4 separate regions of the Homo sapiens genome follow, and all the other regions are linked to region 3. Evidence: promoter capture Hi-C in 16 types of primary human blood cells and fetal thymus (Javierre and others, 2016). All regions are on one chromosome and are shown on one strand. The core of a region is centred on a gene start or on the middle of the fragment in contact, and the rest is flanking DNA. Distances in the headings are between cores, read along the strand shown. Region 1 overlaps TEX11 (testis expressed 11). Region 2 overlaps TEX11 (testis expressed 11). Region 3 holds the start of DLG3 (discs large MAGUK scaffold protein 3). Region 4 overlaps TEX11 (testis expressed 11).

Region 1 (7,616 bases), core at 4,308-6,807, 160 kb before region 3:
CCCAGAAGGTCAGGCTGTGGTTAAGCAGTTTCTCTTGAGGGCAAGACTTGTTAAGAACAGGGTGCTCTGGCATGTTTTAAAGTGTTTTGTTTCCTCTGCCCCCTGCAAGATGCATAAAGAGATTTTGCTCCAATATTCACTGAGTAGCTAACCAAGCTCCTGGAGGCAAAACTCACAAAACTGTGGAGGCCTCCTTATGACTGGGTCCTCCTGAGTCTTTTAATTCAGACTTGTCCACACTGAGCCTCCAGTGGTTTGTCAGTTACGCTTCAGGTTTTCCTACTCCAGCATTGGTTCCCATGGTAGTTTCCACTTTTGAATCTCTGCTCTAGTAAGCTATGACTCCCTATCTTCGCCCTTCTCTCCAATTTTTGTGGCAGTGGTTTTCCCTTTTTCCTCTCGTCTCTTATAGGTCCAAGAAGAGTTACTAATTTTTCAGTGTGTTCAGCGTTTTACTTGTTAGGAGAAACTGGCAACTTCCAAGCTCCTTACATGCATAACTAGAAACCGGAAGTTCTCTTTTAAATTTTATATGCTTAAAGAAGCTTGACAGAGGGGTCAGGAAACCTGGGTCTACTCTTTTCTTCATCTGTAAAATGATGTGTCTGTACAAGATAAGTTATTTTTTAAGCTGCATTCCTTAGAACCGTGGAAATTTTGTGGCACTGCATCAGGGACTTCCAGGAAGGTGAAACTCCAAGCCTCCACCCACTCCTCGTTCAACCACAGCAGCTCAACTTTTATCTTTTATCTTTTCTTGTATATTAGACTTTTATACAACTTTATTTGAAATAAGGGTTCTAGTTCCCCCCTTCAAAAAAGCTTATAAATCACAGAGATCACCAGCTGCTCTCAAGTGTTATGACCCTACAATATAAAACCTTGTCATTGAAATCCTTTGCTGAGAGTTTATGAAGAAGTAGAAGAGAGAAAAAATATGAGGGCACTGGGAATGAGTAACTGTATCCTACAGTGGGGAAGAAGATTGTTGAAATGGTAGATTGGAGTCCTGAGCAAAAAACTTCACAATTTTGCATTTTCTTAGTTCAATTCTCAGGCACAAATAGTGTCCCTTTTTAGTTATGTTTTATAGTAAAGATTTGGAGCAGTTGGAAAATATCCTTTTCTTTATTTTTAGGAAGAAAGAAATGGATCGACTTTTGACTTGCCTGAATAGAGGTAAATATCTCCCTGGTTATATTCAGTCCTTCATCTTGCCTCTATTCTCTGTTGAATTCTCCAAGTACACTAAGCACAGCAACTTTAACCTTATGTTTGAGTTAAGCTTCATGCTCCTTATTAATCTTTGCCACAGGAATCTATTTTGGTTTCTTCATTCACAAGCAGAGAAAAGTGTGTCATCATTAGCATTCATCTCCAAATGTGATTTCAGTTCTGTTTTAATTCCTATTTGTTTTAAGGACATTTCCTTCCCTCCCTCCCTCCCGTCCCTCCCTCCCTCCCTCCCTCTCTTCCTTCCTTCCTTCCTTCTTTCTCTCCTTCCCCCTTCCCTCCCTCCTTTCCTTTCCTTCTCTCCCTTCCTCCCTTCTCTCCCTCCCTGTCCCTCTACCTTTCTTTTCTAGTAGCCACTTGATCCTAACCTAAGAATTGAACAGGTGAAAAAAGATCAAGACAAATAAAAATACTCTGAACCCTGCTGTTTTTTTCATACCCTCTGAATCAAATTCAGGTTGCATATTCTCTTATTTTGAAGCTGTCCACCCAAGTCTGTGCCATCTCCCTTATCTACTAATAATTTTTCCCTGTCCACTTTATTCAAGCTAATCTCCTAGTTGTATCACATTTTTTTTCTAACTACATGCTTTTTTACATGGCATCCCTTTTAACAGATCTCCCATTTTTACTGTCCATGTACCTCTTTCCTTATGTCCAAAACACACCAAAAAGTTCATATCTTAGAAATTCTATCCTGCTCAGTGCAGTAGTTCAATTTTATACCTCAAATACCTGTCAGCAGGGTGTTAAACATAGCAAAGTGGTTTAGAAACCAGACCACTTCTTTTCAAAAGAGAAAAACTTTGCTGGTTGGCATTCTTATTTCTCAGAAAGAGAATGCCTTCTGATAGTGATAGCACATTCTGGTTCTGTCCTGAGCTTGCTGGCTCAGTAAATATTATGCCAGCATATTGATACCCTTCTAATTTTCAATCTCCAGTTCAGTCTTTTAAACGATTGTTTCTATTTTTTATTTCCTCACATGTAAATCATATCTTTCTACCTCAGGTGGTGAATGATTGCACTAATTAAAATTATAAATCTCTCCAAAGACATGTTTGTTCCCCAGAGTTTGAGTTAACAACTTCTTGGAACTTGGTAATGCTTTCTGTCATTTTAATTACTTTTGGTATGCACCCCTACACACATACACAAAAAAGAACTTTCTAAATTCAAACTCCTGTGAGACTGTTCTTAAAGCAGGATTAAACAATTTTGCTAGAGTATAAAATAAGACCATCAGTATCAAATTTTCCTGTTTGATGCAGCCTTTGTGAAACTTTCTCAGCCTTTTGGTGAAGAAGCCTTAAGTTTGGAGTCAAGAGCTAATGAAGCTCAGTGGTTTCGAAAAACAGGTAAGAGGAAATTCTGTGGCTCTGGGAAACATTGTGGGGTGGTGGAATTAGACAGATGTGATTTCAAATTCTGGATCTTTCATTTGTAGCTGTGGGTACAGAGATAACTTGCTTAATCTGTTTTATTACTTATAAAATGGAAATAGTTATATATACTTCATGCAGTTATTAAGGGTTTTAAATGAAACAGCATATATACTTTTTTCATAGTAGATACTCAATGGACATTAGTTGTGTCCCTTTTCTATAGAAATGGGTCTAAGATGAAACTAATGAACTGTAACTACAGGTCCTCAAGGTTGTGCTCCTAAACTTGGTTTAGAATACTTAATTTTTTTTTTTTTTTTTTTGAGATGGAGTCTCGCTCTGTCGCCCAGGCTGGAGTGCAGTGGCTTGATCTCAGCTCACTGCCAGCTCCGCCTCCCGGGTTCACACCATTCTCCTGCCTCAGCCTCCCTAGTAGCTGGGACTACAGGCACCCGCCACCACGCCCGGCTAATTTTTTGTATTTTTAGTAGAGATGGGGTTTCACCGTGTTAGCCAGGATGGTCTCGATCTCCTGACCTCGTGATCCACCTGCCTCGGCCTCCCAAAGTGCTAGGATTACAGGCGTAAGCCACCGTGCCTGGCCTAGAATACTTAATTTATTTCTGAGTGTGATTGACCAAAAATGAACTATATACAACAATATGGATGAATCTCACAAACATAATGTTGAGCAAAAGAAGCTAGATATTGAAGAATACATATTGTGTTGTTCATTTTATTTATAATTTTTTAAATGGGCAAAACTAATATATGGTGTTATAAGTCAGGATAATGGTTACCCTGGAAAAGGAGTTGGACTTGAAAGTTGTAGGAGCTTCAGGGTTTCTGGTAATGTTCAAGATCTTTCTTAATGTGGGTGCCAGACGCATGGATATGTCCACTTTGTGAAAATTCATCAAGCTGTACAATTATGAGTTGTGTAATATACTTTATAATGGCTCTATTTCAATAAAAATGATTTTAAAACTTGCGGAGGCAGTTACTACAGTGATAAGTAAGCATGAGCAATTAAGCAGCAGTGCCACAAAGTGGACTGATTCTACATGAACCTCTCCCTGTGTTATGAGGTTTAATAGGGCTTTAATCCTGGGAGAAAGGGAATGAATACTGCAATCTGACTTCTAAGAAACTGATGCAAATAATGAAAAATAACAAACATTTAAAATATAGACAAGTTTGGTGACTTTAATCTTTTGAAGGTTTGAAAAGGAATGTTTTTACTTTACTGCATTTTAATTTGGATTTTCCAAGGGGAAGATGATGCTGACTGATGCCTGATGAGGGCTTCTACTGCTCTTTGGAAGATATGAATCTCTCCAGTAATTTTTCTCAACTCTTGATTACAGTGTACCTTGTTCTTAGGTGAATTTTAACTTACTTTCACCACTGCGAGTTAGTGAGCTCTATCCATGTTGATCTTCATTTTTAGATAGATTAGTGTCAATTAAGAATTTTTTTTTTTTTTGAGACGGAGTTTTGCTGCCAGACTGGAGTGCAGTGGTGGCATCATAGCTCACTGTAACCTCAAATTCCTGGTGTCAGTCTTCTGGGACTATAGTTGTGTGCCACCACACCTGGCTAGTTTTGTTTTGTTTTGGTTTGTTTTTTAATTTTTTTGTATAGACGGAGTCTCTCTCTGTTGCCCAGGCTGGTCCTGAACTCCTGGCCTCCAGCAATCCTCCTGCCTTGGTCTCCCAAAGTTCTGGGATTATAGGAATGAGCCACCAAGCCTGGCCTCAGCTAAGAATTCTTATTGCATGTCCCCAATTTTAAAAAATTCAGCAGTACCTCCCTTGGTCATTGGTCTAGTGTTGAAGATTGGAATTGACGAGGGTCTCTAAATTTACCTGGAAAATTTTTCTTTAAAACCTAAAGTTAATTGTTTAAACCTTGAGAAACCCCTTACTAGTATGTTAATATCAAAGGTGTAAGTATCAGAAATTGTAATGGTACAGACTAAATGGTAGATTTTCATAATTTCATATTATTATGTTATTTCATGTTAATTTCCAGCTTGGAACTTGGCTGTGCAATGTGACAAAGATCCAGTGATGATGAGAGAGTTTTTTATACTTTCTTATAAGGTAAGTTTCTTTTAATAAGTATCTCATGTATGGACCACAACAAGGCTATAACCACTATGGCTATAGTAAAGGGCTAAATATAGACTAGGATTGTCTCTTGATCTAGGAACTTTTAATATATATGTAAGCAGGAATGACCTAAGAAGAATTTGTTCCTTTTAGGGTATAACATAAGAATGTGGGGCATATCTTTCTATACCAAAATATCAGAAACATTCATCAGGGAGCCTAAAGTTCTACCATTTAAGACTTATTTCTTTGCCTTTGAAGGGATCTCAGCCTCCCAAAGTCCTATATTAAAATGTAAATATCTTTAGGAGGGGAATACTCTAAGTAGTTGTTAATTACCAACACATTATGAAGAGTTATGGGAATAAGTCTACAAGAACATAGAATAAGTATCTGGGGATAGCAGGGGCTGAAAAAAGAGATAAGAAGCTTAGGCCTCCTTTATAACTTTCCTATAGCAGGTCCTGAGTGTAGCGATTTGTGAGTTTGTTATTTAATTATAAGCATTTTTAAATAGTCGTTGGCCTCCAAGGTAGAGGTTAAATGCCAGAAAGAGGACCAAGTATTGACAGGAAGATAAAAGGAGAAGGACTAAAGAATATCCTTCATACACATTCAGGAATACACAGTATGATATGTTGAGATCAATTAAATGTTAAGAGTTTTAGAGCTAGAAAGAACTATAAAGACTATCTAGCACAACTCCTTCATCTCACATAAGAGTAATCAGAGACCTAAAGAGATTGGTTGTCTTAAAATGCTATTAATTTAATAACAATGATGATTATGATCACTGAATGTTTGGGGAGATTAAGAAATAGTCTTTGCAAGTTTAGGCATAACTGCCATTTTAATTAAGTGAAATAAATTGGTTTTAGTTTTGGCATTTGTGATGGGACTTGTAGGATTGGCGTGTAAGAATCCAAATGGCCTAGAGTTTTATTGTAGTAGCTGGGAGTTTTTCCTAAAACTATACAATGTTAATGATGAGGTCATGACTAATGCCTGTCAAGATTTGACAATGCCTCTTTCAACCATGACAATATATGAACTAATTTTGGCTCTATTCAATACAAAGGTGGAAATCTTATTTGCCAGGGGAAAAATCACTTACAAATTACAACATAAACCAAGAAGTAAATCACTAGATAGAAATACAAGGGCGAATGATACTACTTGTCACTGGAAAAGATAGGAATACTGTGAAGAAATGAAGCTTTTTATCTCTAGGAAGGTACTAAAAACAATGGAAAGTAATATAAAATTAAAAGCATAAATCAGTATTATAGTTTATATCATTTCTATGGTGACATGTGCTTTTCCAGCTGAATTTTCTCATTCAAACAGGAAGTTGCTGATTTTCATTCTGATTGTTTGTGTTCACCTGGCAGAATTCTCACTATTCATTGATGTTCTGGTTACTTCTTATCAGATGTCCCAGTTTTGTCCTTCTGATCAAGTAATTCTGATTGCACGGAAAACATGTTTACTTATGGCAGTTGCAGTTGATCTAGAGCAAGGGAGAAAAGCTTCAACAGCTTTTGAACAGGTAATGTGCAACCTTCAAAGAAAAGACAAGAGTTCAGTGTGCTATTTGATATGTTTGCCTTCCCTGATGCAGTTCTTTTTGATTCTCTTTAGAGAATCCTTTTCTCCACTCCAGCATCGTCTTGATTTCAAAAGTTTGTAATGGCTAATTCCTTCCTAAGCAAAGGTTACTTTTGGTGTGGCCTCTTCTTTTAAGAAGATTAGATATCTCTTCTTTTAAAATTCCCCTTCCTATGGACCACTCTTTCCAAAAATGTTTTTAAATATCTTTTATCTTCATTGTCTGCCTGTGATTATATACGCGTTTGGACTCCACTTTTGTTTCTTACCACATCTTCTAAGGAAGAACTCATCTGTTTCCATAGCTTTGATAGCCATCTGAAATTATTACTTATCTGGTTTTTCTTCTCTCAATTGCATTTGCTTTCTTTTTCCCACATCCTTAAATATCTCATTAACTTAATTTCTACAAGACAGAATTCCTTACCTTTGCCTGAATTCCCCTATCAGATTCTTAAATGTTACCCCTTTTAGGAGCTATCAATATCACCGTCTCCCATACACCAGATTATTGGTTTGCTTTTAGCTGTTTACCTTTCTTCTTTCAATCTAAGAAAATTGTCTCCAAATCAGACCAATAGCATTTTTGTATGATTTTTAAGATCTAGATCTCTCTGCTTGGTTTCTCGTACCTGGACAAAGAAAACTTCCTAATCTCCCATACTTGTCACCTTCCCTCCTCTCCAAGTAATATAAACCCTTTGCTGTTTATTCTCTTCCTCCTGTTAATCTCTTATTTCATATTGTTCTTTGGATCTGAAACAAACTCTCACCAGAGCTATGCCAACTATTTCGCTTCTTTTCCCTTCCATTGTTGAGTTCAACTCAAAAAACATTTGAGCACCAGACACTTTTCTAGGTACTGGGGATACAGAGATAAAGAAGCCAAAGTCCTTGCCTCTGAGGAGTAAAGGGGGCCCTCTTTTAAGAGTCTTTTTATTTTAAAAGAAGATGAGAAAAGACTCTACCTTCCCCAGAGCAAAATAAACAAACAAAAATTCTACTTAACAGGCAAAGGTAAATGTAATTTAATTCTCAATAGGGACTTTTGCTTTACTAAAAAATAATAATAACATCTTATTTTTATATAGTGCTTTTAAATTTCTAAAAGTTTTTCCTTTTTGGTTGGTAATCCTGAGTTTGTTTAATTTTTTATCTTAGTGAATAGAGATCAAATTGATGTGGGGGAAATTTCACAAACTCTTAAGTACAATCATTATTTTGTTTGTTTCTAACTACCGTTCTTTTTTATTCTGTGTTCTTTCTCATGTACACC
Region 2 (7,783 bases), core at 4,876-7,375, 200 kb before region 3:
TTTTAGTAGAGATGGGGTTTCACCATGCTGGCCAGGCTGGTCTCAAACTCCTGTTCTCAGGGGATCTGCCTGCCTGAGCCTCCCAAAGTGTTGGGATTACAGGCATGAGCCACCGTGCCCGGCTTCTATTTGTCATTTCTATCCTGTTTCTTTTTCTCTCCTCACTTGCCTTCTTCGGGATCAATGTTTCTAAATAATAGACTTTACTTGTTACAGCAGTTTTAGGTTTACAGAAAAATTGAGTAGGAAATATAGAGAGTTTTCATATACCCCCTCACGGTTCTTCACATACTGTTTCCCCTGTCATTAACATCTCGCATTAGTGTGCTATATATGTTACAGTTAATAAGCCAATATTGATATGTTATTTTTAACTAAAGTCCGTAGTTTACATTAGGATTTAGTCTTTGTGTTGTACATCATATGTGGTTTGATGAATGTATAAAAAAGTGTCTACCATTATAATACCATACAGAATAGTTCAACCCCCTGTGGTTCAACTATTCATCCCTTCCTCCCTCTCACTGAACTAGTGTCAACCACTGATCTTTTTACTGTCTCCATAGTTTTGCCTTTTCAGAATGTCACATAATTGGAATCGTGCAGTATGTAGCCTTTTCAAATAGGTTTCTTTCACTTAGCAATATGCATTTAAGATTCCTTCATGTCCTTTTATGGGTTGGTAGTTAATTTTTTTTAGTGCTGAATAATATTTCACTATCTGGATATATTAGTTTATACACTCACCTATGGAAGAACATCTTAGTTGCTTCCAAATTTTGGCAGTTATGAATAAAGCTACTATAAATATCTTTATGTAGATTTTTGTGTAGACATAAGTTTTGACACATTTGAATAAATACCAAAGGTGCAACTGCTGGATTGTATGGCAAGAGTATGTTTAGTTTTGTAGGAAACTGCCAAACTGTCTTCCAAGTTGGCTATACCATTTTTCATTCCCACCAGTGATGAATGAGAGTTCCTGTTGCACCACATCCTTGCCAGCATTATATGTCGTTAAAGTGTTTTGAATTTTAGTTATTCTAATAGATGCATAGTGATATCTCATTGCTGTTTTAATTTGCAAAACCCTAATGACATAAGATGTTAAGCATCTTTTCATATACTTATTTGCCATCTGCATATTTTATTTAGTGAAGTGTTTCTTCAGGTCTTTTGCCCATTTTATACTTGGGTTGTTTATTTTCTTATTGTTGAATTTGAAGAATTCTTCATACATGTTGAATACCAGTCCTTCATTACATATGTGTTTGGCAAATATTTTTTCCCAATATGTGGCTTTTATCATTATTCTCTTAATGCTGTCTTTCACAGAGCAGTTTTTAATTTTAATGAAGTTTAACTTACCAGTTTTTTCTTTTATAGATATGGTTTTGGTGTTGTGTCTAAAAAGTCATTGCCAAAGTTCACCTAAAATTTCTCCTATGTTATCTTCTAAAAGTTTTATAGTTTGGGTTTTTATATTTAGGTTATAATCCATTTTCAGTTAATTTTTGTGAGAGGTTTATGGTCTGTGTCTAGCTCTACTTTTTTACATGTGGATGTCTAGTTGTTCCAGCACCAGTTGTTAAAAATACTATTTTCATTTTTTTTTTCATTGCAGTCTTCCCCTTCTACTAGTGTGAAAATTATTTACTGCTTCTAATCTTTTAGTGGCTATCCTAGAAAGTATAGAATCCTTTCTTAACTGTCTTCCATGTTTGTAATCGCTCTGTGCTGCATTTTGGCTATTTTATTCTTTCAGCCCACTAATTTTCTCTTCACCTGTTTCTAATCTGCTATTAAACCTGTCTATTATGTTTTAATTTGGGTAATTGGGTTTTTCATTTCAAAAAGCTTCTTTGTTTCAGATCCCCAAGGTCACATTTTATGGTCTCTGTTTCCTACTAACTTCACTGATATGCAAAGTATTTAATAACTGGTATGGCACAGGTAATAATGAGACAGAATGGATACCATCTAGAAACAACCACTATAACTGTATTAATTTGTACCACTGTGTATCAACCCACATACATATATTTTGAACATACATTGTATTTCTTTAGACTTTGAAAACATAGGTGTTTTATAACCAGTTTTTCATAATTCTAGTATCTGCATCTTGAGGGTCTGCTTCTGCTATCTCGTTTCTGCTGTTTATGGTACCTTGTTTCCGAGTGTGCTTTGTTATTTTTGTAACGTGTACAACTCATGGTTCTTGAAAAATTATTTATGGAAATATTTCGAAGGCTGACATAAGGTGCTTTCCCCCAGAGAAGATTTACATTTGCTTCTGTAGATGCTTGGGAGCTATCTAAACTAAATTCTCAGCTTTAGGTCTTTTAGCTTCCTGTATAATGTAGTTTGGGTCAGTGAATACATGAGTCTCCTAGTATTACACCTCATGGATTGTTTCCCTCCACCCCATTGTGCTGCCTTCTATTCAGTACTAAGGTAACTTTATTTGCAGTTTTCCAGGGATGTGGGTAGGAGTGGGTTTACTTTTGGCTTGTCCCTAGTCTAGGAGTGTGATCCCTTGGAACTTGATGTCTTTTCCCCTGACCTAGTGATGTCCCTCAAAACTGAAGTTAACATTTGCTTACATTTGCAAATGCTTACCAGATAAAAGCGACTTTACTTTTCTGTTTACCTCTCTGAGACCTCAGTTTTCCTTAGATTTTGCCTTGGTAATTCTTTTGCTATTTGTCAGTTGCTCTTTTGTTCTTTCTGGAAAAAAATTAATATATCATCCAATATTTTTGGTTGTTTTCAGCAGGAGGGTTGGTCTGACATATCTAACTTACTCTATTTCCAGAAGTATAACTCACTGTTGCATTAGCATTCTAGAAGAGCACTTCTGCAAATATTTTTCTTAGATTCATATATTTTCATTGTGAGTATCCCTCAGCCATTTTGACTACCTTAATGATATTAGTAAAATATGGTAAGTCCTTCCTTGTAGATTTTATTAAAATGACCCAGTGTTTTTCTTTCCAGGCCAAAGAGGCAGTGGCAGAAGCTGAACGACATGACCCTAGGAACGTTTTCACTCAATTTTATATATTCAAGATTGCAGTCATAGAGGGCAACTCTGAAAGAGGTATAAATTTTATTTGTCACTTATATTTGACTATTAACACAAAGAATAAATAATCCTCTTCAACCACAGTGGGAAAAAAACATTGTTTTTAAGACAATAGAATTGAATATATGTTCTGTCTTTCCTATGTAAAGGTGATACAACAATGCAAAAAGAAACCGTGGAAGGTTATATAAAAGTAAAAGAACAGTGGTTACCTATTGAGGGAATAGGAACTGGGCAAACGCGGGACAAGAATTAGGGGAAAGTCTTATCACTATGTACTTTTTTATACTTTTATTTAAACCAACCTATTCAAAAATTAAATTTAAAAAGCTGTGTGTGGGTGAGATTATACTAAAAACCCATATCAGTTAAGAATTGTCTTCAAAAAATGAAAGTTGGGGTACCTTTTGATTGTTTTCACTTATTTGGGAGGTGATTGGTGAGAGATTTGGCCTTGAGATGGAGTTTCTCTCCACAGAGTAGACAGTCTTGGAATTTCACACATGACCCTCATCCCATTAATGTTGAGGCCTTTCCATTAAGTTAAGCATAGTTTCCTAGCTGGTGTGTCTGCATGGGCACATATATGTTGAATTGGTTATAGATATGCCTTTGCTCAGATATTAATGCCTTCAGCCCTCAGGTAGCTGAATTAATCCTGAAGGAGTCTGAGCTCCAGACTGGTTGCCATTTGTTTGGCAGAAGTTAAGAAACTTAAATTAATGGATCCAAACAAAATGTATACGAATCCAATTAAGCAACTGTTTTTGGACACCTACTACGTACAAAGGACTCTGTTATTCACTCCTTAAGAAAAAAGATCATTTATTTTACATTAAAAAAGAAATGTTCCAGAATAGTAAAGTATACCTGTATAATAATTAAGGAATAGTAAATTAGAGGTTAATATTGCTGTCATGTTCATCATCAAAGTTTTCATTAGAGACTTTTAGGCATTTGTTTTACTTGATATACTGTGTTTAAGGGTAAAATAACTTGAAGCTTTTTTGCCAGTAAAAATGGCAAAAATATTAGTAATTTTCCTGTTAAATCTTTTGTTTTAACATTATTTTTTAAAAATTATTTTACTTTTTAAATACAACATCAGATCAACCCTTTTATTTCTTCTCCAGTTGTCTGTGACCATTTTTTAAGTCACGTATATTGAAGATACATATAATAAATTTACTCTTGCTAGTGTATGGTCCTATGAGGTTTATATATGTTAAAAATTCTGAGTTTTGAAGTGCATACAGTCATATAACTACCACCACAATGTAGAAAAAAAATACCTCAGGGCCCTTTACTGTTACTCCTTCTCACCACTTTCAGCCCTGGAAATCAGTAATCTCTTCTATCTCTATAGTTTTGTCTTTTCCAGAATGTCATATAAATGAAATCATATAGTATGAATCTTTTTGAGCTTCTTTCACTTAACTTAATGCATTTGAAACTCACCCATATTGTGTTTATCCACAGTTTGTTCTTTTTTATTGCTATGTGGCATTCCATAGTATGGAAATACCACAGTATGGAAAAATGCATTCACCAGTTGAAGGATATTTGAATGGTTTTCAGGGTTTTTTTTCACCTCTGAGACAAGTTCAAAGTTTTCAGTTTTGACAATTGTGAATAAAGGTGCTGTAAAACATCTCTTTACATATTTTCTGTGATAATAATATTGTTTTTTTGAGATGGGGTCTTGCTCTGTCACCCAGGCTGGAGTGCAGTGGCATGATCTCAGCTCACTGCAATCTCCACCTCCCAGGTTCAAGCGATTCTCCTGCCTCAGCCTCCTGAATAGCTGGGACTACAGGTGTGCACCACCATGCCCAGTTAATTCGATGATAATATTTTACTTCTGTAGGGTAAATATCTAGGAGTGGGACTGTGGACTTATATGGTAAATACATGTTTAACTTTATTAGAAACTGCAAAACTGTTTTCTAAAGCGACTATACAATTTCACCTGTGAACCAGCTATGTTTAAGAGTTCTAGCTGATCTACATCCTCATCAGCACTTGAAATTGTCCACTTAAAAAAATTTAGCCATTCTGGGAGATTATTAAAAAGTCAAGAAACAACAGATGCTGGTGAGGCTGTAGAGAAATAGGAATGCTTTTACACTGTTGGTGGGAATGTAAATTAGTTCAATCATAGCGGAAGACAGCATGGTGATTCTTCAAGGATCTAGAACCGGAAATACTATTTGACCCAGCAATCCCATTACTGGGTATATACTCAAAGGAATATAAACCATTCTATTATAAAGATACATGCACACGTGTGTTCATTGCAGCACTATTCACAATAGCAAAGACATGGAACCAACCCAAATGCCCATCAATGGCAGACTGGATAAAGAAAATGTGGTACATATACACCGTGGAATACTATGCAGCCATAAAAAGGAATAAGATCATGTCTTTTGCAGGCACATGGATGAAGCTGGAAGCCATCAACCTCAGCAAACTAATGCAGGAACCGAAAACCAAACACCACATGTTCTCACTCATAAGAGGGAGATGAACAATGAGAACACATGGACACAGGAAGGGGAACAACACACACTGGGGCCTGTTGGGGGCGGGGAGGGGAGGGAGAACATCAGGACAAATAGCTAATGCATGTGAGGCTTAAAACCTAGGTGATGGGTTGATAGGTGCATCAAACCACCATGACACACGTATGCCTACGTAATAAAACTGCACTTTCTGCACATGTATCCTAGAACTTAAAGTTAAAACAATAAAAAAGAACAAAAATTTAGCTATTCTGATAGTGGGTAGTAGTGTTTTACTGTGGCATTAGCATTTCCCTAATGTTTAATATTTTATTAAACCATGTATGTTTTTGGGTTGTTTGTACAAATCTTTTTCCCAGTTTAAGATAGGGTACTTTGTTTTATTATTACTGATTTTTGACAGTTCTTTATATATTCTGGATACAAGTTGTCTTTTTTAAAAACTTATTTTTTTAATTGGCAAATAAAAATTATATATATATTGATCATGAACAACATGGTGGGTTTTATTTATTTATTTATTTTATTATTATACTTTAAGTTTCAGGGTACATGTGCACAACATGCAGGTTTGTTACATATGTATACATGTGCCATGTTGGTGTGCTGCACCCATTAACTCGTCATTTACATTAGGTATATCTCCTAATGCTATCCCTCCCCAGTCCCCCATCCCACAACAGGCCCTGGGGTGTGATGTTCCCCTTCCTGTGTCCAAGTGTTCTCATTGTTCAATTCCCACCTATGAGTGAGAATATGCGGTGTTTGGTTTTTTGTCCTTACTATAGTTTGCTGAGAATGATGGTTTCCAGCTTCATCCATGTCCCTACAAAGGACATGAATTCATCATTTTTTATGGCTGCATAATATTCCATGGTGTATATGTGCCACATTTTCTTAATCCAGTCTATCATTGATGGACATTTGGGTTGGTTCCAAGTCTTTGCTATCGTGAATAGTGCTGCAATAAACATACGTGTGCATGTGTCTTTATAGCAGCATGATTTATACTTCTTTGAGTATATACCCAGTAATGGGATGGCTGGGTCAAATGGTGTTTCTAGTTCTAGATCCCTGAGGAATCGCCACACTGACTTCCACAATGGTTGAACTAGTTTACAGTCCCACCAACAGTGTAAAAGTGTTCCTGTTTCTCCACATCCTCTCCAGCAACAACATGGTGTTTTAAAGATATGTATACATTGTGGAATGGCTAAATCAAGCTAATTAACATATACATTACCTCACATCCTTTTTTTATTTTTTATTTTTTTGAAGCAAGGTCTTACTCTGTCACCCAAGTGGAAGTGCAGTGGAATGATCACGGCTCATTGCAGCCTTGACCTCCCAGGCTCAAGAGATCCTCCACCTCATCTTTTTTATTATTTTTTGTATAGATGGAGTCTCACTATGTTGCCCAGGCTGGCCTCAAACTCCTGGGCTCAAGCAATCCTCCTGCTTCAGCCTCCCAAAGTGCTAGGATTACAGGCATGAGCCATCACACCCAACCCTACCTCACATACTTAGCATTTTTTTTGTGGTGAGAACACTTAAACTCTCAGTGATTTTTAAGAATAGAATACATTGTTATAATCTATAGTCACCATGTTGTACAATAGATCTCTTGAACTTGTTCCTTCTGCTCAACGGAAATTCTGTATTCTTTCACCATCTCCCTAATCTCCCCGACTCCTTAGTCCCTGGTAACCACCATTCTACTTTGCTTCTATGAACATTCTATTCTGCTTCTATGAGGTCAACTTCTTTAGATTTCACATATGAGATCATGTGGTATTTATTTTTGTGTGCCTGGCTTATTTCACTTAATATAATGTCTTCGAGGTTCATACCTTTTTTTCATAAATGACAGGATTTCCTCCTTTTATTGAGGCTGAATAGTATTCCATTGTCTATATATACACCAGATTTTCTTTATCCACTTATCCACCGATAAACAGTTAAGTTGATTCCATACCATGGCTATTGTGAATAATGCTGCAATGAATATGGGAGTGCAGATATCTCTTTGACATATTGATTTCACTTCTTTTTTATATTCTACTACGTAGTGGGACTGCTGGATCATATGGTAGTTCTACTTTAATTTTTTTGAGGAACCTCCATACTGCTTTCCATGATGGCTATACTAATTTACATTCCCACCTACAAT
Region 3 (7,851 bases), core at 332-2,831:
CACACACACTACAGAGCTGCTTGGACAAAAGAGTCCGTCCTTCTCAGCAGCCTCTCAGCCTTGCTTGGGACATGTCTCTCGCCTCCTTCCTCTCCCCTCCCTTGCCTGTCAAGCGCCTCTCACCAGAGACAACACATACAAACACACACTCACACACACACACCAGGCACACGCGTGCACACTCTTGCAGCCACATGCTCACACACATATACATGTAGCCACACACACAAACACAGCCATCCCTGCAGCCTCCTCTACAGAGACCTCTCCACATTCAGAGTGACATCTCCACACATCCATGTGCACATTCACACACAAAGGGACTGGGACGGAGAGGGACTCATGGCATCAAGGGATGAAGCTCAGCGAGCCGGGCACATGGGCTCCTCCACACGGATTCACGGCAGCTCCATTGCCTTCCTCCACACACCCCAACATACATACACACACATATGTCCCCCCTACGCAGAGCACCATGCCCCCTCCCCTCCCCTCCGGTGGAGACACACACCACACACAGCCCCCGCAGAACCTCCCGCCCCCTGCCAGACACAGAGACATTGCCAAACCCCCACACTGAGACAAACCCAATTCCCCCACACAGGAAAATGTGCCCCTCCGCCATGCCCTTACCCCCTGACACACGGCTCCTCCCAGTCTTCTAATGGAGACCCCCAAACAGACACACACAGGGAACCACACATTTCCCACCGCCTCTCTTTGCCCAGCTGCAATGCTAGGGCTCGGGGTCCACAGGCTTGGAGCCCCAGCGACCCCTACTGCATCCCAGGCCTCTAGGCCCCCACTCTCCAGCCCTCCTGGGTTGCCCCACCGCTCCCCCCTCCGCTGGTCCATACCTGCTCATACCAGTCCCGGTTGGTACAGGTGCACTCTGGCCACCAGCTGGGGCCGCTGCCGTTGAGTTTGGGGGTGCTCTTGCCCGGGACTGGCTTAGGAGGCACCGGCCCCACATCCCGGCCGGTGGGGATGAGCTTGGCCTTGGTGCGAGGGGTGGGGGTGGCCCCCGCCTGCGAGGGCAAGGTCTGCGAGCTGTAGCCCCCATAACCCGCGCTGGCGCCGTTGCCCCCACCTGGCCCGTAAGGGTCGGGGACTTGCCAGTCGCCGTAGCCCGGAGGCTCGAGGCGCCGCAGGGCGGCCAGGCGGGTCACCTCATAGCACTCAGGGCACTTACAGCAGTGCTGGTGCTTGTGCATGGCACTGCCCCCCGCGGCTCGGACCCCCCAGCCCACGCCGGATTCCACGCCGCCGCCACCGCCGCCACCACCGCCGCCGCCGCCGCCGGGCTCCCTGGCACACTCACACTGCTCGGACCAAGAAGGGGGGGGCACCCGTGGGGGCGCCCGGGCTGAGCGGGGCCTGGGGCCGGGCGGGCGTCCCGGGGCCTCGGCCCCCACGCTGCCCCGCACCCACGGCTCCCCCTCCAGCACTGGCGGCTCCGTGTCGCCCGTCGTGGCTTCTGGGCCGAGGCCCAGCGGCAAAGAAGAAGCGGGAGCTCAAGCAGAGAATGGGTGCTGTGAGGACCGCTTCTGCTCTGGTCCCCAGGATGGATCTGAGTGGAGTCAAGAGCATCTCTCCCTGGCTCCCTTCTCAGTTGATTCCAGCCAATCAGCGCGCAGAGGCAGGCAGCGGCAGCGGCAGCGGCGGCGGCAGGAATGCTAAACAGCGGCTACTTAAAGGAACAGAGGCAGCGGCGCCCCCAGGCTCAGCCCCAGCTCCCCCAATCTCTAGGGAACTGTTGGCTCTAAGGGCGGGGGCAGAGGACGTGGGCCACCAGAAAGCTCAGGCACCCGATCTTGTGCCCTTATATCGCCAGTTTTAGCCTGTCCTCTGCCCACTCCACCCCACCCCACTTCCAAGAGGGAGTTGCAGGGAGATGTTCAATGGGTCCCCAGGCTTGCTCTGAGCTGGGGCCACCAGAAGTAAAGACGAGGTAGCAGGATGGACAGAAAGGACGTTGGAGCAGGGTGAGGGAGGTGCTTTCTCTTACAGGGGACCAAAGAAGAAGGCAGCATATGAGGCCCGCTGTCCTGTCAATGCCTCCTACACAAGACTATTGTTCTCTCAGTCTCTAGGCCCTGAAATTACTGTGACCTCACACTTGACCTTCTACCATCACCAGTAAAGAACTCAACCCTAGAACAGGGATTAACAGAAAGCTCTAAGTCCTTGTCCCTGGCCCACAAACCCCTATCTCCTCCACTCCACCCCTGCATGGTTATGATGGGGGAAGGAACTTCAGGATATCAAGATGAAAGTCCAGGACAGGTGAAAAGGTAAGAAGGGATTTGAAGAGAGAGAAACCCTTCTATGGGTCTGGAATAGAGCTTAGGAATACTTGTCCAAGGACATCTCCTTACCCTCTCCTGGCTCAGCTTGTCGGGGGAATGGAGGAAGGATGACATACAAGAAAGACTATCTTTTTTGCAGTTCTTGTTTTGTTTTTAGCTACCAATTATTGGGTCTTTACAAAGTCCTAAGTGCATAACACGCAAACCCAAATCCTACCAAGCTGATGCTATTATTATCTTCATTTTACCAATGAGAAATTGAGGCTCAAAGATGTTAACACAGCTAGGTAACACAGCTGGAAGTGACAGAATCAGGATGCAAATCCTGATTATTTGACTCCAGAGTCCACGCTGTGAACCACTCTAGTACGACAGGTCTATTCTAAGTTCTCCTGCAGAATTTACATCTCAGTTCAATTCAGCAAATATTCATTGAGCACCTGCTCTGTGCAAGACCTTGACCTAGGTATTAGGGATACAGAGGTTCTTTTTTTTTTTTTTTTTTTTTTTTGAGATGGATTCTCATTCTGTCACCCAGGCTGGAGTGCAGTGGCGTGATCTCAGCTCACTGCAACCTCAGCTTCCCAGGTTCAAACGATTCTCCTGCCTCTCAGTCTCCCTAGTAGCTAGGACTACAGGCTCCTGCCACCACGCCCGGCTAATTTTTGTATTTTCTTAGTAGAGATGGGGTTTCATCACGTTGGCCAGGCTGGTCTCGAACTCCCGACGTCAAGTGATCCACCCACCTTGGCCTCCCAAAGTGCTGGGATTGCAGGTGTGATCCACTGTGCCCGGCCCTCAGAGATTCATTCTTAATTCAACAAATATGCGTGGAACACTTGCTGTGTGCCAGACACTGTTGTAGGATTTGGGGATATAGCAGGAAACAAAATAAAACAGAACAAACAGAACAAATCCCTGCCCTTGGGGAGCTTACCTCCTAGTGAGAGGACACAGACAAAAATAAACACAATAAATAAGTGAATTATGTAGTACAGTAGGTCCTCATTTAACATCATTGGTAGGTCCTTGGCAACTGGGACTAAGTGAAACAACGTATAACAAAACCAATTTTACCACAGGCTAATTAATATAAACAAGAGCTAAGTTCCTACAGCATATTTCTGGTCACAAAACATCACCCAGCTTCCAAATAAAGACCCAAAACACTTCTGATATTGAACATTGAAATAAATATGAGCTATGCATACATATAGAAAGATTAATGAAAACAAGTAAATAATTACCTAACCTTTGGTGAACCAGTGAGTGACAGCAGTGGAAGTGGTGGTGGGTTGAATCAAGGAATAAATGTATGCAAAGCGAAAATTGTAAGGAGCACCTCCCTACCACCATGCAGTTCAAAAGCAAACAATCACGAATATGGTGAGCTCGATGAGCACTTTCTTACCTCATAGTTTATTGTGCATTTGTATGATTATCAACTACTTGACAAATTTTTATTTTACAGTACTTTGTATCCATCCATCCATCCATCCATCCATCCATTCATTCATTTTTCAATCTGCTTATTTCAGTTCAGGGTCAAGGGTGGCCACAGCCTATCACAGCAGCTCAGGGTACAGGGCAGGAACCAATCCTGGACAGGATGCCATTCCATCACAGGGTGCGCTCACATACACACCCACACTCACTCACACTGGGACAATTTAGACACGCCAATTCACCTAACGTGCACTGGGATGTGGGAGGAAGCGCAGTACCCTGGAATACCCGAGAAAACCCACACATACATGGGGAGAGTGTGCAAACTCCACACAGACAGTGGCTCTGGCCAGGAATCGTTTTAGTTGTTTTTTTTTCCCCCTCATCAATGTTAAAACAAAATGATGTTGAAGAAAACAACATTATTCAGCATATACACCTGCTGTGTATATGGTGATAAGTGCCATGGAAAAAAATAAAAAGTAGAGCACAGTAAGATGGATTGGGAATGGTAGGGGAGGATACCAAGTTGTGATTTTTTTTTCAAGTTTTTTGCCCCCACAGTTTAATATGAAAGTTTTCAAACATACAGAAAAATTCAAAGAATTTTACAGTGAACATCCAATTACCCACTGCCTAGGATTCTCATTAACATTTTGCTATGCTTGCTTTATCATATATCTATCCTCCACATATCCTCTCCAACAGTTTTAAAAATGAAAATTTACAAACATACAAAAATATTGGAAGAGTAGTACAATGGACACCACTGTATGCCTTCCTTATCAAGTCGACAATTTGACTTGTTTTGATTGTTATATTTGCTCTGTCTATGTATCTATGTATCTATCCATCTATCTATATTTTTTAAAGAGTAGGTCTTGCTCACTCACTCAGGTTAGAGTGCAGTGGCGTGATCATGGCTCACTGCAACCTCAAACTCCCGGGCTCAAGCAATCCTCCCACCTCAGCCTCACAAGTGGCTGGGACCACAGGTGTGTGCCACCATGCCCAGTTAATGCTCTATCTATCTATCTATCTATCTATCTATCTATCTATCCCTTTTTCTGAACCATTTACATGTAAGTTTCATTACATGTAAATGGTTCCATTATTCATCTGTAAGTTTTGATAACTTCCTTTAGCCATTCTTTGTCTGCTGGCAACAAATTATCTTAGCTTTCCTTTGTCTGAGAATGTCTTGATTTCCCCCTCATTCCTGAAGGATATTTTCACCAGATATAGCATGCTGGAGTGCAGTGGTGTGACCATAGTTCACTGCAGCCTTGAAACTCCTGGCCTCAAAGTGATCCTCCTGCCTCAGTCTCCCAAGCAGGCTCCTCAGTAGGTGGGACTATAGGCGCACACCACTCCTGGTTAATTTTTTTATTTTTAGTAGAGACGAGGTCTCATTATGTTGCCCAGGCTGGTCTCAAACTCCTGGCCTTGGGTTATCCTCCCACCTTGGCCTCCCAAAGTATTGGAATTACAGGTGTTAGCCACTGTACCTGGCCACATTTGAATTCCTTTTCCTATGTAGGTAAGGTGTTGTTTCTCTCTTGCTGCTTTCAAGTTTCCCATCTTCAGTTTTCAGAAGTTTGATTATGATGTGCCTTGGGGTGAATTTGAGTTTATCCTATTTGGGGTTTGTTCAACCTCTTGAACCTGTTCATTTATGTCTTTTGCCAAATTTTCAGCCATTATTTCTTGAGTAATTTTTTTTAGCCCCATGCTCTTTCTCTTCTTCTTCCACATCTCCAATTATGTGAATGTTAAGTCCTTCGTTATAGTCCCAAGCATCCCTGAGGCTCTGTTCATTTTTTTTTCTTTGAGACTCTGTTTCATTTTGTCACCCAAGCTAGAATGTAGTGGCACAATCACAGCTTACTGCAGCCCCGATCTCCCAAGCTCAGGTGATCCTCCCACCTCAGCCCCCTGAGTAGCTGGGACTACAGGTGTGCATCACCACATCCAGCTAATTTTTGTATTTTTAATAGAGACAGGGTTTCGCCATGTTGCCCAAGCTGGTCTTGAACTCCTGGGCTCAAGTGATCTGCCCACCTCAGCCTCCCAAAGTGCTGGGATTACAGGCGTGAGCCACTGTGCCCAGCTCTGTTCATTTATTTTTTGTCTATTATTTTCTCATTGTTGTTCAGATTGGGTAATTTCTAATGTTCTATCTTTATGTTCACTGATTCTTTCCTCTGTCCTCTCCATCCTCCTTTTGAGCTCATCTACTGAGTTTTTTAGTTTGGTTATTATAGTTTGTTCTAAAATTTTATTTGATTCTTCATTATATCTCTTATTTCTTTGCCAAGACTTACTATTTTTTACATTCGTTTTAACCTTGTTTGTAATTGCTCATAGATTGCTCATAGAAGCATTTTTTTTAATGTTGGCCACTTTAGAATCTTTGTCAGGTAGTTGAAATCTTTCTCTTTCTCATTCAAATTGAGGGTCTCCTGGTTCTTGGTATAATGAGTGAATTTTTTTTTTTTTTAAGACACAGGGTCGGCTGGGCGCAGTGGCTCACACCTGTAATCCCAGCACTTTGGGAGGCCGAGGCGGGTGGATCACAAGGTCAGGAGTTCGAGACTAGCCTAGTCAATATGGTGAAACCTGTCTCTACTAAAAATACAAAAATTGCCTGGGCGTGGTGGCGGGTGCCTGTAGTCCCAGCTACTCAGCAGGCTGAGGCAGGAGAATCGCTTGAACCCGGGAGGCGGAGGTTGCGGTGAGCCAATATTGCGCCACTGACTCCAGCCTGGGCGACAGAGCAAGACTCCGTCTCAAAAAAAAAAAAAAAAAAGGACACAGGGTCTCACTATGTTGCCCAAGCTGACCTTGAACTCCTGGGCTCAAGTGATTCTCCCAACTCAGCCTCCTGAATAACTGGGACTATAGGTGCTGGGCTTAGATATAGAGTGATTTTTATTGCATCCTGGGAATTTTTGGATATTACAGTATGAGACTCTGGATTTCATTTACATCTTTTGTTTCTGGTAGGCTTCTTCTGACACGATTTTCATCAGAGGAAAGGGCCACTGCCTGGTTACTGCCGGGTAGAGGTTCAAGTTCAATTTCCCTCCTTGGTCTTGGTTGGTATGTGTGGTGGAGGCTTCTCCTTTCTACTGTGCAGGGGTAAAAATTCCAGCTCCCTACTATGCCTCTACTGATGCCTCTCTAGCTGGAAGGGGCAGAAGTGCCTTTTTACTGTTCCCCAGGTGGGCTTCCACTAACACCACAGTCAGGAGGTGGAGAGATTTTGGGAGGGGAGGAGAGGGAGGCTAATGGCCTCATCAAATGATATGTTGTGGTAAAAGTCCTGACTCACCACCAGGCTTCTCTGACACTGACACCACCCAACAGGAAGGGGTTCTTGTTACCCCTCAGGGATGGAAGTTTAGGCTCTCTACTCAGCCTTCTCTGACACTACCCCAGAGAGTACGGGGGAGCCTGGCCAGAGTGAAAATCTGGGTTATCTACTTGGCCTTTGCTGGCTTGGGTGCAGCTGCAGTTTTTTTTTTTTTTTTTTTTTTCTGTGGTGTGTGGTTGCAGTGGTGGTTATTGTCTAAGAGTTTTCTGTCTGGCTAAATTCCATTTCCTGGTCTTATGGCTAGAGAGAATAGGCCAGTTACTGGTGTTTGCATTTTTTTTGTCTGTGCCCATTGGCATTTCCAGGCTGCTGGCTTCTCCAGTACCTGATCTGGAATATTTGATACAACGAGAAAACCCAGGGAACTCATCACCTCGAGTTCAGGTCACTGGGGTTCCTAGTTAGTCTGCCCCCTTCCTCTTCTTTCATAGTCTTCTTATGTTTGTCTTATATATAATGTCCAGAGTTTTAGCTGTACTTAGTGTGAGGAATAGGGAGAAGTGTGTCTACTCTAACTGGGTCCATAACTGGAAGTCTTCCATCTTTTTTAAAAAATTAACTACATCGAGTTTTTGAAGAGTGCCAGTCAATTGTTTTGGATTTGTCTTTTTCCTCATGGTGTCATTTATCTCGTTCCTTTATACAGTACTCTCCCTCTTATTCATGGTTTTAACTTGCCATAGTTTCAGTTACCCATGGTCAACTGCAGTCTGAAAATAT
Region 4 (6,786 bases), core at 2,044-4,543, 140 kb before region 3:
TCACAGTTCAGCATGGCTGGGGAGGCCTTAGGAAACTTAGAATCATGGCAGAAGGCGAAGGGGAAGCAAGGCACCTTCTTCACAAGGTGATGGGAAGGAGAAGTGCCGAGTGAAGGGGAAGAGTCCCTTATAAAACCATCAGATCTCATGAGAACTCACTATCACGAGAAGGGCAAGAGGGAAATTGCCCTTGTGATTCAATCACCTCCACCCAATCTCTCCCTTAATACATGGGAATTATGGGGATTACAATTCAAGAAGAGATTTGGGTGGAGACACAAAGCCTAACCATATGGTTCCACCCCGGACCCTCCCAAATCTCATGTGCCTTTCACATTTCAAAACCAATCATGCCTTCCCAACAGTCCCCCAAAGTCTTAATTCATTCCAGCATTAACTCATAAGTCCATGTTCAAAGTCTCATCTGAGACAAGGCAAGTCCCTTCCACCTGTAAGCCTATAACAGCAAAACCAAGTTAGTTACTTCCTAGATAAAATGGGGGTACAGATATTGGGTAAATACACCCATTCCAAATGGGAGAAATTGGCCAAAACAAAGGGGCTACAGGCCCCAAGCAAATCTGAAATCCAGCAGGGCATCAAATCTTAAAGCTCCAAAATGATCTCCTTTGACTCCATGTCTCACATACAGGTCATGCTGATGCAAGAGGTGGGTTCCCATCGTCTTGGGCAGCTCTGCCCCTGTGGCTTTGCAGGGTACAGCCTCCCTCTTGGTTGCTTTCACGGGCTGGCATTGAGTGTCTGTGGCTTTTCTGGGTGCACAGTGCAAGCTGTCAGTGGATCTACCATTCTGGGGTCTGGAGGATGGTGGCCCTCTTCTTACAGCTCCACCAGGCAGTGCCCCAGTGGGGACTCTGTGTGGGGGCTCCAACCCCACATTTCCCTTCCTCACTACCCTAGCAGAGGTTCTCCATGAGGACTCCACCCCTGCAGCAAACTTCTCCACGGACACCCATTTGTTTCCATACATCCTCTGAAATCTAGGTAGAAGTTCCCAAACCTCAATTCTTGACTTCTGTGCACCCACAGGCACAACACCACATGAAAGCCACCAAGGCTTGGGGCTTGCACCCTTTGAAGCAATGGCCTGAGCTGTATGTTGGCCCCTTTTAGCCATGGCTAGGATGTGGCTAGAAGTCACAGTTCCAAGAGTACACAAAGCAGAGAAGCCCTGGGCCTGGCCCAGGAAACCATTTTTCCCTCCTAGGCCTCCAGACCTGTGATGGGAGGAGCTGCCTTGAAGGTCTCTGACGTGCCCTGGAGACATTTTCCCTATTGTCTTTGTGATTAACATTGGGCTCCTCATTACTTATGCAAATATCTGCAGCCAGCTTGAATTTCTCCCCAGAAAATGGGTTTCTCTCTTCAGTTGCATTGTCAGGCTGAAAATTTTCCAAACTTTTATGCTCTGCTTCCCTTTTAAACATAAGTTCCAATTTCAGATCGTCTCTCTCAAGTTCATAGTTCCAGAGGTCTCTAGGGCAGAGGCAAAATGCCACCAGTCTCTTTGCTAAAGCATAGCAAGAGTGACCTTTGCTCCAGTTCCCAAGAAGTTCCTCATCTCCATGTGAGATTATGTCAGCCTGGGCTTCACTGTTCATATCACTATAAGCATTTTGGCCAAAACCATTCAACAAGTCTCTAGGAAGTTCCAAACTTTCCCAGATCTTCCTGTCTTCTAAACCCTCCAAAGTGTTCCAACCTCTTACCTGTCACCCAGTTCCAAAGTCACTTCCACATTTTTGGGTCTCTTTATAGCAGTACCTCACTCTACTGGCACCAATTTACTGTATTAGTCCATTCTCGCCATTTTACATTCCCACCAGGAAATGTATCTTAATTTCTCCACCTCCTTGCCAACACTTGTTGTTTTCCATTTTTTATTATTATAGCTATTCTAGTAGGTTAAATAGTATCTCATGGTTTTGATTAGTATTTCTCTGATGACTAAAGATGTTGAGCATCTTTTCATGTGCTTATTGGTTATTTGTATTTCATCTTTGAGGGAGGGAAAGGACTTGTCTATTCAAGTTCTTTGCCCATATTTAAAATTGGGTTGTTTTTTGGTGTTGCGTTTTAGGATTTCTTTATATATTCTGTATATTAAACCCTTATCAGGTATATGATTTGCAAATATTTTCTCCTGCATGTTTTCTTTTCACTTTCTTGATAATGTCCTTTGATGTAAAAAAGTTTTTAACTTTGATGAAGTCCAATTTATCTACCTTTTCTTTTGTTGCTTGTGCTTTCAGTGTCATGTCAAAGAATCCATTGCCAAATCCAAAGTCATGAAGATTTATTCCTATAAATTCTTCTAAGAGTTTTATGGTTTTAGCTTATATGTTTGGGTAATTGATCCATTTTGAGTTCATTTTTATATTCAATGGTGTAGTAGGCATCCAACTTCATTCTTTTGCCTGTGGAAATCCAGTTGCCACCATGCCATTTGTTGAAGAGACTATTATTTTTTGTTTGTTTGTTTGTTTTGAGACGGAGTTTTGCTTGTTGCCCAGGCTGGAGTGCAATGGCACAACCTTGGCTCACTACAACCTCCTCCTCCCTGGTTCAAGTGATTCTTCTGCCTCAGCCTCCCAAGTAGCTGGGATTACAGGCATGCACCACCATGCCTGGCTAATTTTGTATTTTTAGTAGAGGTAGGGTTTCACCATGTTGGTCAGGCTGGTCTCGAACTCCTGACCTCAGGTGATCCACCCACCTCGGCCTCCCAAAGTGCTGGGATTACAGGTGTAAGCCACCACACCCGGCCTGAAGAGACTATTCTTTGTCCCATATAATGGTCTTGACACCCTTGTTGAAAATCAGTCAGCCATAGATGTATGGGTTTATTTCTTAACTCTCAGTTCTATTCTATTGGTCTATATGTCTATCTGTATGGTAGTACCACACTGTTTTATTACTGTAGCTTTCTAATAAGCTTTGAAACAGAGAAGTGTTGGCCCTCCAACTTTGTTATTTTTCAAGATTCATTTTGAACTATTGGGGCACCTTACAATTCCATATAAATTTGAGAATTGACTTTTTCATTTCTGTAAAAAGAGGCTGGTGGAATTTTGATAGGGATCGCTTAGCGTGATATAAGTTTTGAAATGTTGACATCTTAACAATATTAAGTCTTCCAATCCATAAATGTAGGCTGTCTTTTCATTTATTTAGGTCTTCTTTAATGTCTTTCATCAGTGTGTTATAGTAATCATTGTACAGATCTTCCACCTTCTTGGCTAAATTCATTCTTTTGAATACTATTGTAAATGAATTGTTTTCTTAATTTCCTCTTTAGATTGTTCATTGCTGATGTATAGAAACACAATTGATCTTTGCATGTTCATCTTGTACCTGCAACTTTGCCGAATTTGTAGCTTTCTTGTGGTTTCTTTGGGATTTTCTATACGTAGGGTCATGTCATCTGTGAACAGTGAGAGTTACACTTCTTTCTTTTTACTTTGGATGCCTTTTGTTTCTCTTTGTTGCCTAATTTATCTGGCTAAAACTTCCCGTACAATGTTGAATAGCAAACTTCCTGTACAATGTTGAATAGCGGTAGTGAGAGAGGGCATCCTTGTCTTGTTCCTGATCTTAGGGCTAAGCTTCCACCTTTGAGTATAATGTTAACTGTGGAATTTTTTTTAATGCCCTTTATCAGATTGAGGCTATTCCCTTCCATTCCTAGTTTATCTTGAAAATATTTTGGATTTCATCACATGATTTTTCTGCATCAATGAATATGACCTTTTTTCCTTTTTTCTATTGATGTGGTATATTACATTAATTGATTTACTTATGTTGAACTTGCGTTCTTGGGATAAATCACACCTAATCAGATTGTATAATCCTTTAATATGCTGTAAGATTTGGTTTGCTAGTATTTTCATGGGGTTTTTTTAATTGATATCCATAAAGAATATTGGTTTGTAATTTTCTTTTCTTGTGATGTCTACATTTGGCTTTAGTATCAGGGTAATGCTGGCTTCATAGAAGAAGTTAGGAAGTATTCCCTCCTCTTCCATTATTTGGAAGAGTTTGAGAGAACTGCTGTTTATTCTTCTTTAAATGTTTGGAAGAATTCACCAGTGAAGCCATCTGGTCCTAGACTTCTGTTTATTGGGAGGTTTTAAATTACTTATTTAATCTCTTTACTTGTTATAGGTCTGTTGAGATTTTCTATTTCTTCTAAAGTCAATTTAGTAATTTGTGTGCTTTTAGTAATTTGTCATTTTTTTTTTTTTTTTTGAGACGGAGTCTCGCTCTGTCGCCCAGGCCAGACTGCGGACTGCAGTGGCGTAATCTCGGCTCACTGCAAGTTCCGCTTCCCGGGTTCACGCCATTCTCCTGCCTCAGCCTCCCGAGTAGCTGGGACTACAGGCGCCCGCCACCGCGCCCGGCTAATTTTTTTTTTGTATTTTTAGTAGAGACGGGGTTTCACCTTGTTAGCCAGGATGGTCTCGATCTCCTGACCTCATGATCCACCCGCCTCGGCCTCCCAAAGTGCTGGGATTACAGGCGTGAGCCACCGCGCCCGGCCAGGAATTTGTCATTTTATCTAAGTTATCTAATTTTTTGATGTACAGTAGTTCATAGTAATCTCTATTTGTGATTCAATTTTTGGAAGGTAAAATCAAGAGTTGTTAGAGGCAAATTGGGCCTTGATTAAAATAGGATCTGGTAGTTCTGTTTTTAGTTCTTTGAGAAATCTTCACACTGTTGTCCATGGAAGCTCTACTGATTTACATTCCCACCAGCAGTGTAAAGCATTTCCTTTTCTCTGCATCCTTGCCAACATCGTTATTTTTTGACATTTTAATAATGGACATCCTGACTGGTGTAAGATGATATGTCATTGTGGTTTTAATTTGCATTTTTCTGATGACTTTTCAATCCAGCAATGCCATTACTAGGTATCTACCCAAAGGAAAAGAAATTATATATTAAAAAGATACCAGCACCCATATATTTATTGCAGCACTATTCACAGTTGCAATGATATGGAGTCAACCTACGTATCCATCAATGGAAGATTGGACAAAGAAAATGTGGAATGAAGATACACACAATTAAATAGTACTCAGCCATAAAAATAGAATGAAATCAGGTCATTTGCAGTAACGTGGATGAAACTGGAGGCCATTATCTTAAGTGAAACAACTCAGAACCAGAACGTCAAATACTGCATGTTCTCACTCATAAGTGGGAGCTAAATAAAGTATGCACATGGACATAGAGTGTGGAATAATGGACACTGGAGACTAGGAAGGGTGAGATGGTGGGAGGGGGTTAAAGGATGAGAAATTACTTAATAGGTACAATGTACATTATTTGGGTGATGGTTACAGTAAATACCCAGACTTCACTACTACTTAATATATCCATGTAACAAAACTGAACTTCTGTCCTTTAAATTTATATAAATTAAAAATAAAAATAAATAAATAGGATCATGAGTGCCCAATAAACAATACTTGGTTACCTATTTAAACAAAGTGACAATCAAACATTTAAAAATAAACATAGGGCTTTGGAAGGCCGAGGTGGGTGGATCACCTGAAGTCAGGAGTTCAAGACCAGCCTGGCCAACATGGTGAAACCCCGTATCTACTAAAAATACAAAAATTAGCTCGGTGTGGTGGTGCACGCCTGTAATCCCAGCTACTCGGGAGGCTGAGGTAGGAGAATTGCTTGAACCTGGGAGGTGGAGATTGCAGTGAGCCAAGATTGTGCCACTGCACTCCAGCCTGGGAGACAGAGTGAGATTCCATCACATAAATAAATAAATAAATAAATAAATAAATAAATAAATAAATGTACATAGGAGGTAACACAATTCTAACATAGGAGGTAACACAATTCTAAAGAACTTTAGCTCTTTGACAAGTGAGGAACCTTTGTTCTTTGTTAGTTTGCCACTAAATAATCAAAAATAAAGAAAAAGACAACATAAAGCTCAGAGAATTATTCTTGTAAAACACAGAGTCTGCTATCTAGGCAGATTACACAGAAGATGAAGAATAACTTTTGCATTGTGGTGAAGGCATTAATCAATAAATTAAGGAAGCAAGCCCATCAAAATTTAGATAAGGTTGCTACAATTTTAACACATTGCATAGCTTTATTTCAGACCTAGGTTTAAACCAGGGCAAAAAAATTTAACTTTCCCAGTTTGTCCTTCATTATGCTCTTTGATGTTCTGGAACAAACTGACCATCTTTCAGAGCATCTGCTAGGTCAAAACTATTTTTATTATAATACTAAGATGTGTAGTTTTTCAGGGGCAGTATGATGTGTGATATTGTAATAGATTGAATGCAGAAGCAGATAGTAGAGTCTAATTATTTCTATTAAGTTGGGCATTAGGGAACTTTGCAAAAATGTGAAGCAATCTTCTTATTTTTAAAATAAAATTATTTTTATTAAAATTGACATCAACATGCAACAGATTCATCTCAAATCAATTCAATCAATAAATATATTTAATTTTTTCTGTTTTAATTTATAATATGGTAAGTATTGATAGTTACAACATACATGCGGAAAACCTCTTTGGAAGTCCTTAGTAATATTTCAGAGTACGAAGAGGTCCTGAGAACAGAAAGTTTGAGAACTACTGTCTTAGAAACAAACTACTTTTCCCTTTAAAACAGAAGCATATACCCATTTGTCACTATTGCTCATAATATAATCTCAACCACTTGTTTTAATTTTAACTTTTAACCAAAATAATATCTATTTCAAAGAGAAAATTTGAGGGGTGCA

What was found. The method cuts DNA at HindIII sites, captures the fragments that hold promoters and counts their contacts. A CHiCAGO score of 5 or more calls a contact.
Region 1: a fragment that was not itself captured here is called in contact with the fragment with the promoter of DLG3 in region 3 in 1 of 17 cell types (M2 macrophages); the score reaches 7.4 in M2 macrophages.
Region 2: a fragment that was not itself captured here is called in contact with the fragment with the promoter of DLG3 in region 3 in 1 of 17 cell types (M2 macrophages); the score reaches 8.3 in M2 macrophages.
Region 4: a contact is called between a fragment that was not itself captured here and the fragment with the promoter of DLG3 in region 3, in 1 of 17 cell types (M2 macrophages). The highest score is 7.4, in M2 macrophages.

The regions. Positions count from the first base shown.
Region 1 is chrX:70,604,066-70,611,681 of GRCh38, reverse strand. TEX11 (testis expressed 11) reads left to right here. Exons shown (of 30, transcript NM_031276.3): 21 at 1,139-1,179; 22 at 2,505-2,591; 23 at 4,653-4,723; 24 at 6,165-6,281. Among named protein-coding and RNA genes, the nearest start is that of DLG3-AS1, 150 kb to the right of the region's middle. The HindIII fragment of the contact is 787 bases long and covers 5,164-5,950 here.
Region 2 is chrX:70,646,770-70,654,552 of GRCh38, reverse strand. It overlaps TEX11 (testis expressed 11), which reads left to right. Exons shown (of 30, transcript NM_031276.3): 17 at 3,001-3,103. Among named protein-coding and RNA genes, the nearest start is that of DLG3-AS1, 190 kb to the right of the region's middle. The HindIII fragment of the contact is 4,065 bases long and covers 4,093-7,783 here.
Region 3 is chrX:70,438,565-70,446,415 of GRCh38, reverse strand. It overlaps DLG3 (discs large MAGUK scaffold protein 3), which reads right to left and starts at 1,581. Exons shown (of 19, transcript NM_021120.4): 1 at 858-1,581. The coding sequence starts at 1,214. RefSeq lists an enhancer at 1,277-2,063. The HindIII fragment of the contact is 21,076 bases long and covers 1-7,851 here.
Region 4 is chrX:70,581,773-70,588,558 of GRCh38, reverse strand. All of the region lies in intron 25 of TEX11 (testis expressed 11), which reads left to right. Among named protein-coding and RNA genes, the nearest start is that of DLG3-AS1, 130 kb to the right of the region's middle. The HindIII fragment of the contact is 670 bases long and covers 2,959-3,628 here.